Regions from separate parts of the Homo sapiens genome. Here region 2 is linked to region 1. Evidence: promoter capture Hi-C in 16 types of primary human blood cells and fetal thymus (Javierre and others, 2016). All regions are on one chromosome and are shown on one strand. The core of a region is centred on a gene start or on the middle of the fragment in contact, and the rest is flanking DNA. Distances in the headings are between cores, read along the strand shown. Region 1 holds the start of TREML2 (triggering receptor expressed on myeloid cells like 2). Region 2 overlaps APOBEC2 (apolipoprotein B mRNA editing enzyme catalytic subunit 2).

What was found. Contacts are between HindIII fragments. The CHiCAGO score rates a contact against its expected background, and 5 or more counts as called.
Region 2: a fragment that was not itself captured here is called in contact with the fragment with the promoter of TREML2 in region 1 in 1 of 17 cell types (neutrophils); the score reaches 5.1 in neutrophils.

The regions. Positions count from the first base shown.
Region 1 is chr6:41,199,899-41,205,282 of GRCh38, forward strand. It overlaps TREML2 (triggering receptor expressed on myeloid cells like 2), which reads right to left and starts at 1,251. Exons shown (of 5, transcript NM_024807.4): 1 at 1,056-1,251. The coding sequence starts at 1,110. RefSeq lists an enhancer at 1,470-1,539. The HindIII fragment of the contact is 14,567 bases long and covers 1-2,835 here.
Region 2 is chr6:41,060,210-41,065,593 of GRCh38, forward strand. It overlaps APOBEC2 (apolipoprotein B mRNA editing enzyme catalytic subunit 2), which reads left to right. Exons shown (of 3, transcript NM_006789.4): 2 at 1,119-1,683; 3 at 3,892-4,682. The coding sequence ends at 1,662. It overlaps OARD1 (O-acyl-ADP-ribose deacylase 1), which reads right to left. Exons shown (of 6, transcript NM_001329686.2): 6 at 4,563-5,384. Among named protein-coding and RNA genes, the nearest start is that of OARD1, 9.5 kb to the right of the region's middle. The HindIII fragment of the contact is 1,506 bases long and covers 1,290-2,795 here.

The DNA of each region.
Region 1 (5,384 bases), core at 1-2,500:
GTGAGAATAGCACCACACCCCTCACAGGTTGCTGTGAGAATTCTGCCCCAGGTCAGTGCTTTGCACACAGTGCATGCTCAACTCATGCTTCCTTTTCCCACATGCTGGGGCCTCCCAGTTCCCCCAATGGAACCCAGAGCTGTGACAGTCAAGGGCCCAGAATCCAGGACATCTGTCCCACCAGAATCCAGGATATCCGTCCCAAGTCCCAGCCAGCAGCCACTAGAGCTGAGGCTCTGTGTGAAGCAGCACCCTCTCTAAGCATCCCTCTGTCCCTTGCAAACTAAACAGAATGATCCAACTTCATTATTTGGTGGATGAGCCCAGGATTTCTTAGCACAAGAGAGACCCCTTTCTGCCCTGGCAGTGGGAAGCTGTTTCTCTACCCTCTGGGAGGTGCAGAGTTGGGTGACCTTGGGATGGGTCTCCAGGGCAATGTCTTCATGTGTGCCTACACCTCCCACCCCTCTCACAGGCAGTGGTGAGTTTTGCCAACCCCCACCATGCCCAGAACTGAACAGGAAGTGGTAACTTGGTTGCCATGGCAGCGAGAGGGGCAGGAATGGGTGAGGTTCCTCAAGGAGCATTGGTATCTGTGAGGTGGGAAAGGCATTCACACACTGGTCCCTTCAGGACAGAGGCAGGGACAGGATGTGGCATCAGCATTTCAAGAAAAATGTTCAAATTCAGTTCAAAACACACATGATGCAATGATTGCTGTCATAACTAAGCAGGGCTTCCTGACAGAGGCCAAGCAGAGAAAGCTATTTGTGTGAGGAAATTGAGGGCTCTGCTTTAAAGCCTGAGGAAGCCTAGCAGATAAAGGAGCCAATGCAGAGAGGGTCCAGAGCTTTATCTTGGCTTGGGAGGCCTGGGTTAGCTTCGCCTGGGGCCTGATATTAGGGTAAAGAGCTAAGTCAGCCCTAATCTCCTCCTTCCCCAACCCACAAAACACTAAACAAGAAAACTGCTGGTAAGGAGGGTAAGAAAAAGGCCCTGAGCTCCTGCCTCTGTACCCACTCCCTCCTCCACAAGTCAGCCCCTTCTCCCCTCACCTGAGACGCAACCCTGTGGCCACAGCAGCAGCAGCAGCAGGAAGGCTGGGGCCATGGTTCCATCCAGCTGGGCAGTGTCAGGCCTGGAGATCCAAGGTGAGGGCCCACCCGACACAGGATGTGCCACCTGGGCCTGCCAGGGAAGGACCCGGGGTTCTAAAAGTGAAGCTGCCCATTTAGGGAAGTGAGGCAGTGTGGGACCCACTGCCCCCAGCCAACCGCAGGGATTCATTGAGCCTATTATGAGGGCGGTGCTGGCAGCTGTTTCCGCCCTTTTCCTCGGAACTTCAGGCAGGTGTGGCTGCTCCACCCAGTCTGGGGCCCCAAGCCGGGAGGACTCACAGTCAGAGGGCTCCCCGCCCTCCCCAACCTCCCCCAGAAACTGGTCCCTAGGATCCAGCAAGGGGGCTGGGGTGAGGCTTCTGGAACGTCAGGTATAGACCTTCCTGGAATCTTCTGGGCTCAGAGACCCAGGGGTGCGGGCTCTTAGGCTGAGATGGAGCATCTCAGACCCTAGTTTCTTACATATATACATTCACAGGGAAGTTCTTATAAACTCTCATTCATTCATTCATTGCAGATTCTTTCTGTTCCTTCCTCTCTCTCTCTCCCAGGCTCCTGGCTGCTCAGAACAGTCACTTGTGTTCACTGTTGCAAATAACCTCTTACAGGCTCACTTGAAATCTTACTTTTGTCAAGCGGGAAAAATGCAAATTGTTAAGACTCAGGGCATAAATTTTGGGTTGAGGGAGGGGTTCCTGTACTCTCACACACAGGTGTGCATGCACATGCACTCACACTCACAGTCTCACTTTGTCTTTTATTCACTTTCACACACACACACACACGCCCATGCACACAGTCTCACACACACCCCAGCAGCCTCTCCTTTTCCCTATCCATACGTCTCCTCTCTCTGTCCCTCTCCCTGCCTCTCCTCCTGTCGACTCTACTCACCATCAGCTCCCTCTAGACTCCTAGTCCCTCGTGCAGGCTTCCTACAGCCTCCGCAGTACTTCCCCTCACCCACCTCATCTCAAGACCCCCTTCCTCCCCTGCCTCCAGCCTACGTCAGCACGCAGGCAAGTGCCCTCCACTTCCTCCTGCTCAATGCTATCTCGCCTGTACAGCCACCAGCTCCAGTGGAAATGACCCAGCACTAGGCCCAAGACCACACCCTTCACTTACCCCAAGGCCTAGAATCAGAAGCATCAATTTTTGATGTCCGGTACCTGTGTCATCTGCTCCTTCAGTGTGTGGGGACCCAGCTGGACTCCCGTGATTATGTATGCTCCCCCTACTCACTAGTGCCATGTTTCTACTCCTTAGATGGGACTGTCAAAAGGTAAACTGAGGCACAATAAAATTTTAAACAGATTATTTCAGCAAACAACAATTCATGAATCAGGCAGCTCCAAACAGAAGAGGTTGAGGAGCTCCACTGGGGGAATGCAAGGGGAAGACTCCTACAGGACAAGTAAACTGAAGAAAATATTTAATTAGTTATAGTTATATAGTTCCCTTATTTGGCCTATCCTGTTGGAAAGACCCTAGTTAATTATATAAGTTTCTTTTGATTGGTTGAGCTTAAGTTCTATTTTTCCTTAATATACACATTTACAAGAAATAGCTCGTGTTAAGTTTCACTGATATTTGCAAATCAAGCAAAGTTGAGGTCACTTATGAGGCCTAACTGTTTTTTTAATTTTTGCTCAGGGACTCTTCAGGCCTGGTCTCCATTTTCATTAATTTTAACAGGACTCAGAGCAAAAAGTCCTCAAGCTTGCATGGCCACAATCTTAAATTGACCTTGAAGCCCCAAGCTCCAAGCAAAGAAGTCTATCTCGGCTGACCCTAAGCTTTTGTAGTCTCTCAACTCATTCACTCACTCATTAATTCATTCATTCATTTGTTCATTCCCACAACCTCATTGCTATGCATGGGGCTAGGTAGGCACTGGGGGCGTAGGAATGAGACACGATTGTCACTTGAGACCTCTCAGCTCACAGACGTGTTTTGTTTTCCTTATTCACCCTTCCTTTTTCAATGTTTCTCACCCAGTCCTCAGAACTTCCTGAGCTCCCTGAGTTCAGGGGCCATCTCCCCTCCCCAGCACACACAGTAAGTTCCTCCATCCCTTCCCCCATCAGAACAGTAAGTTGCTTCAGGAGTGGGGGATTTATCTCTTGTGGGGACTTTATGCGCTTGGAATCCATGATTCTATGAAACTGATACAGTGCGCCCAGCACTGAGCCAATCATCGTCTAAAGTGTGACCCTTGGGATCACTGTGCTGATGAGGGTAGAAAGAATCAAACATTCATTCGCTGATCGAGGAAGTATGCACTGGATTCAATCTTTCTTAAGAGAAATTTGGAAGCATTGGTCAAAATCATTAAAAATACGTATACATTAGACTTTTACATCTATCATTTGATTTAATACAGCAGTGTATTTTGTCTTTATATTTATTTTTCCCATTTAAAAATTAAGGCCTAATTTACATACAGTACTATTCACCCTTTTCAGTGACGAGTTCTGGGAGTTCTAGAGACTTGTATCCAATGCCGTAATGGAGACAGAGAAGAGTGCCATCATCCCGAAAAGCTTTCCTCTGCTCCTTGTTAGTCATCCCTTCAGTCCCAGACAAACACTGATCTGGTGGGGTTTTTTCCTGTCATTTCTCTCTTTCCAGAATGGAAAAGTGAAGCACTTTATGTTGATTTATTCTGGTGAAGTCCAATATATAATTTTTATGAATCAATTTTTATGTCATATCTAATAAATCTTTGCTTAACCCAAGGTCACAATGACTTTTTTCAACAATTCTGTGAGCTATAATTCACATAATATAAAACTGACCCATCTAAAGCATACAATTCAGTGGTTTTCAATATATTCACTGAGTTGTACAACTAACACCAATTTTGCAGGATTTCCCCACCCAAAGAAACCCCATGCCCGTTAGCAGGCACTCCCTGGATCCGTTTACTGCAGACTTGGTGGCTTAAAACAGTATTAAGTTATTGTCTCGCCATTCTGAAGGCAGAAGTCTGAAGTCAGTTCACACTGTATTGAGATGAAGATGTCGACAGGGCTGCAGTCTCTCCAGAGACACTAGGGAAAAATTTGTTCCTTGCCTTTCCAGCTTCAGGTAGCTGCCAGCATTCTTTGGTTTGGGGCTGTTTTACTCCAATCTTCAAGGCCAGCATCTTCAGTCTCCCTCTGCTCCATCTTCCCATCACTTTCTCCTCTTTGTGTTCAAATCCCACTCTGACTCTCTTACATAAGGATACATGTGATTGCATTTAGTTCCCATCTACGTAATCCAGGATAATCTCACCATCTCAAGATGTTTAACTCACTCATATCAGCAAAGATCATTTTTTTTTTGTTTTTTGCCATATAAGGGTAACAATCACAGGTTCCAGGGATTAGGACACAGATATCTTTTAAGAGACCATTTATCAGCTTACCACAGTCCCCATTCCTACAGTCCCAGGCAACCACTAATATTTTTGTCTTTCTAGACAAAAATATCTTCAATCAAAAATGCCTTTATCAATTCTGGATATGTCATAAAAACATAATTGAACAATATGTGTTCCTTGTGACTGGATTCTTTCATTTGGCATGTTTTCCAGGTTTGTCCATGTTGTAGCTGTACTTGTGCTATACGTTGTATTAATACATCATTCCTTTTAAAGGCTGAATAATATTCCACTGAATGGATATATATGTTTACCATTTATCAGTTGACAAATATTTTATTTGTTTCCACTGTTCAACTATTATAAGCAGTGTTACTATGACTATTCATGTACAAGTTTTTGTGTGGACATACGTTTTCATTTCTCTTGAGTACATAACCAATAGTAGAACTACTGGGTCATATGGCAACTCTATGTTTAACATTTTCAGGAACTACCAATAGTTTTCCAAAGTGGCTGCAAATTTTACACCCTCTCCAGCAATGTATGAGTTCTCATTTCTCTACAATCTCTCCAATACTTGTATTGGCTTTCTGTTTACAGCCATCCAGTGAATGTACTTAAGTTTTGAATTGTAGTTACCTAATGACTAATGATATTGAGCATCTTCATCTTGAGCATGCACAATTTGCTCATTTGTATACCCTTGGAAAAATATTTATTCAATTGTGTTGTTTGTCTTTTACAGCATTTGAACAATGTTGTGCCACATTTTTCTGGCTTCAATTGTTTCAGATAAGAAATTCACTACAATTAGAATTGGTATTCCTTTATAGATAATTATTTCTCTCTGGCCATTTTTACGATATTTTCTTTGTCTTTACTTCTCAGAAGGCTAT
Region 2 (5,384 bases), core at 793-3,292, 140 kb before region 1:
CTCCTCCTCAAAGGCACCCACACAATTCATCACCAAGTTTAGTGTCCTAAGATACCTACTGGACTTGTTCAATTTGAGGCTTTTCCTCAGCTTCACACTATCTGCCTATTGCCAAGACTGTAATCTTGCATGGACATCATTTTTATTGTTTTCCTTCTCAAGAACCTGTAACAATTCTCTACTGCCTCCCGAATCAAGGCCAAACTTTCGAGAACCTTCATAATACTTCCTTTACTGTACCTATCCAATTTTAGCAGTCTTATAATGTTCTCAGCTGTTTTATTTACATCTTCTCTGTCCAGCTGCAATCTAGCTGCTAAATTATAAGCATCTGGAGGGCAGAGACCAAGTCCTTTAAGATTTGGAGGTGACTCAATACTAAATACAGGCTTAACTATCCCAAGATACCCTTGAGTAGTCTGTCCTCACAGATAAAAATTCTTGGACACTTAGCATGTGACAATCCCTTTACCTGAAAGTAAACAGACTTGAGAAGTAGTCACTTGAGAAGGAGAGCATGTTATTGCAAGTTTTAGGCCATTTCATGCCAAGATGCAATTTACATGAGTTACAAGGAAGAGAAAAAAGCATAAAATGCTCTGCAAAATCTTTGTTTTGCTCTGTCATGAGAAATTTTATATGCTTGCTACTTACCTGGCCACTTATTGGAATCATCCAGAGAGCTTTTTAAAAATACTGATGCTTGGACCACCTCTCCACATGTTCTGATTTAATTGGTTTGGCATGAGGCCCAGGCACTGACATTCTCAGTCTTCTAGGTGATTCTAAGGTATAGGCAGGTTAAAGATTCAGTGATTTAGAAATGTAGGGGTATGTTGTGCTGGAAGAGTGATGGTGGAGACAATGTCCTAGTAGGGTGACCAAAATGCACACCTCAGTCCAAATTCTCCTCTCCTTCAGATAAACCCTTCTGGATTTTTTAATGCTTTTTTTTTTTTTTTTTTTTTTGTCACTGATGTTACCACAGACAAGACCTATTTATAGTAAGAGTGAATGCATTTCTGAAGTACTGACCTGGAAGAGCTACCTACTCTAGGCTGGTTCTAGAAACAAGAACTTATCATTCTTTCCTGTCCTTTTGTCTCCTTGACCTACAGAGAACGGCTGCCTGCCAACTTCTTTAAATTCCAGTTCCGGAATGTGGAGTACAGTTCCGGGAGGAACAAGACCTTCCTCTGCTATGTGGTTGAAGCACAGGGCAAGGGGGGCCAAGTGCAGGCATCTCGGGGATACCTAGAGGATGAGCATGCGGCTGCCCATGCAGAGGAAGCTTTCTTCAACACCATCCTGCCAGCCTTCGACCCAGCCCTGCGGTACAATGTCACCTGGTATGTGTCCTCCAGCCCCTGTGCAGCGTGTGCTGACCGCATTATCAAAACCCTTAGCAAGACCAAGAACCTGCGTCTGCTCATTCTGGTGGGTCGACTCTTCATGTGGGAGGAGCCGGAGATCCAGGCTGCTCTGAAGAAGCTGAAGGAGGCTGGCTGTAAACTGCGCATCATGAAGCCCCAGGACTTCGAATATGTCTGGCAGAATTTTGTGGAGCAAGAAGAGGGTGAATCCAAGGCCTTTCAGCCCTGGGAGGACATTCAGGAGAACTTCCTATACTACGAGGAGAAGTTGGCAGACATCCTGAAGTAGGGCAACTGGGCTTTGCCTCACGTGAGTTTTCCTGGTGCCATGGCACCAACACTTTATTATGTTAACTCCAGTAGAAGGTGTGAGGTCAGGTAGAATCTGTGATATGTCTGATTTTCCTTTGGAAGGGTTTCATTTCTCTGCTTTTGACTGGTTGCAAAAATAGTTTAGAACATGTCTCTTTCCTCTGAATCCCTCTCTAAACTTTTCCCTCCCACACTTTTGTATCAAAGTAACTTTCCCCTAACTTAGAATACTCAAGGTTGACAGGAATCCTAAAACTTTCATGAGGCAAGATGACGTTCTTTGGTAAGATTTAGATGGTGCAAGCACCTGCTACTGAACCACAGCAGAGAAGATACTGAAATCCTCTGAGTATGCCCCTGTGTACATGTCAGGGATTACTAATTCCAGACATCTTCTAGATGCCTCACTCCCATATCCACTGGCAATCTTACCATTCCATTTTTCTCTAATGAATGTTTTTTAGTCCTTCAGGGACAATTTTTTCACTTATGGTAATTTTGAAATTCCCCAAATGGACTGGTATTTAACTTGTTTTAAGCCAGACCTGCTTTCATGTTTTCAAACAAATGGCTACACTTTGAAGGAGACCAACAATTGCTGTGTGAAAATACAATACGGGAACATTTTCCTTATGTTGAGAAGACCTCAGTAGAATTCATGGAGGATGTCGAATGCAGGAATGGGGATAATATAGCAACAAGCTAGTCCATGCAGGAACATTTAAAGAGTTAAAAAGACATTTGTAAAGTAGGCAGCAGCTCAGAAGTAACCTCTTACAGATATCAAGAGGTGATAGGAGAAAGATTAGCTATTTAAGCAAATAATTAGGACACAATTAAGGCCAATTTGGCCTCTTGCTGAGGGTAAATTAAACTCTAACAGAAACAGGCTAATTACCCTCAGGAAAGAGGGCTAAAGGATCCTTTACTATCTTTTTTACATTTAGTCTGATTGAGTTTGCGCCTACAGAAATGCTATGACGAAGCCCCCTTTGCAAGGCCCCAGTTACTGATCAAAATCTTCCAGTAATAGAGGAGGGGTACTCACGACACTCTTACCCAACTTTAATCCTGCAACAACTCACATATTACTAAAACATGAAAACAACAAGCTTCCATGAAGATAATTTACTTTTGGTCTCTCTCACTCCTAACACCCTTAAGAGAAGATGTCGCTTCATAGACACGTTTAGGAAATATCAATGTTCCAGAGCTTGATGTTGGCAGGTGTTTTCTATTAGACATGCACATGGGCACCTGATCATTCTCAAGCTGAGCATTTGCCAACCCATGAAGATACAACTTTCAGCCATTTCTTTTAAAAAGCAGGACCCAGTCACTGAAGTCAGTGAGCCTATGATAGGGTATACTGTGTGGTACTCTGCTCACATAAAATAAGACACTTTATAGTGGTGAACAGTAGTCAAAACAGATTTCTGAGGGTGCCCTCTGAGAATATAAAATTTAACTTTTAGAATTCCTTGAAGATTTTGTTAGTGTATGTACTATCACTGTAATTATAAACCCAACATAGATTCTACAGACTAACCGGCAGCTTAAAATTTAACCCCAGTATATTTTCCTTTCAGACATCTTTCAGAGTCAAGGGCCCAGGTGCCTAACTAGCAAGTCCTTAGAGCTTTTTTTTTTTTTTTTTTTTTTCAGTGATTTCAAATATAACTGTATTATCTGGACCCATTAACATGCTTCCCTGTCTTCTATTTGAATTGCTCATGTTTGTGAAGGGAAAGGTTAAGATATATCAAGTTAAAAAAAAAAAAACTGGCATGAGATAAGAGTGTAATCTAAAAGCCCAAAAGAACAACCCTGCTTAATTAAAATAATCTTGAGAAATGAGCATTTGTTAAATAAAGTGTCTTATTTTACATACTTATTTCATCTTTCTTTTTTTTTTTTTTAATGACAAAATAGTATTTAATCCTATATTTAGTCAAAAGACCAGAGTTAAACCAGATCTCTTCTGGGGCTTTTTCTGTGTAAACCACATCAAAACATGAACGAAAGACTGGCTTCTGGTTTAGTCAATCCTGGTAAATTTACCCAATCCTGCAAAGGAAACTATGGAGGAGAAATCCAGGGACTTGTTGGGAAGGGCACACAGAAACCTTAGTTCAAAAAGAAACTAGTCATTGTTCGGGGCCAGCAGAGCTCTCAGTAACACATTTTCTTTGTTTGTTTTACCAAGGTATTCCTGCTGCCACCAAGAGACAGCAATGACATGTACAGCCATCTGGGACATGCCTGTCTTCCTAATACCATTTGGAGCTGGACAACATTTGACACCAACCAATCATACTGGACAAGGCCCTTAGAGGACTTGAAATATACTTCTCATGCTGTAGTTTATTTAGGCTGTGACTCTCTCTCTAATGCTGCTCTCGGGAAGGACGAAAGTGACCTGCAAGGAGAGAAATGCAACCATACATGGGCTCCAGTCAACTATGGGACTGAAGGTCCTAATTGCTCACCCAAGGGGGCTGCTTAACACAAACAGCCTCAGACCCGAGGTTTAGATTTCTGAAATATGCATTTTATGTTAAGTTGGGTATTTTTTTAAAAAAAGAAAAACAGCAACATTAATAAAAGAAGTGGTGTGTTTTTCCCGTGGCCAGATTTTTAAGAAACTTGAACATCTGGAAGTTGCCACAGACAAGCGAGCTAGTCCAGACACAGGGACACTCCAGGCTATGAACCAAGCCATGGTTAAACCAAGACTTGCCTAGACAATGCAGAATAACTCTCCCATACAGACTTCTTACGACAATCAAGTGAGGGCCTTTCCCTTCTCTGAAGGCAAGTAATAGGGCAGAAGGTGGAACAAAAAGCATGAGAAATCTAAGGTAGCCACATCCCAAATGCCAGTTAATAAGCAACTAGCTTCTTTATTAGAGAGGAGCGGGTGAAAAGTAGTAGTTTAATGTTCAGATATACAATCATTTAAAAGTATTCAATACATGGTGTTTGATGGTAATGGCAGGATGATGTCAAGTCTCTCTTTTTTTTTTTTTAAAGGTTTGTTTGAGTCCTATGTGGAAGCAAAAATTCACAGGTGAATTTCCGGGTGTTTGCCAAACTCTAACTAGGTTTCCAGGAATAATGTGTTCACTCTGATTACCAGGGCATGCCTCCTTTCCTCAGGCTTCAAGTGTGATAAGTCGTCGGAATTTGACCCAAGACTACTATCGGCAAATGACAAAGTGCTTTATCACATTCCTGCTAAGTCCCAGAATTCCACTTACAGCCAATCCTGAATGAGACTAGGTTTTGTCTAAAGAATCAAGGCTCAAACGCCAAGAAAAAAATAATAATAATAACCATAATCTCTTTAAAAGTAAAGGAAGCCTAGAAAATCCATGTTTTGACTTGTGTTAAGGTTTACAGATGGTACTCAATTTACAATGGTTTGTCTTGCAATTTTTGGACTTTACAACGGTGCAAAAGCCATACACATTCAGTACACCCTTCAACTGAACTCAACTTAAGATGGGGTTACCCAGACATAGACCTAAGTTGAGGAGCATCTGTAATTGCAGAGTTAAGCAAAATATTTTAAGTTTCTTTAAGTTTCTTATCCCCCACTCTCACTTTCAATTTTGTGTATTTAGATAATCTCTCCTTCCTTTTTCCCTTCAACTTTATGTGGACAAAAGCAATGCTTCAAGAAAAGCCTCAATCTAA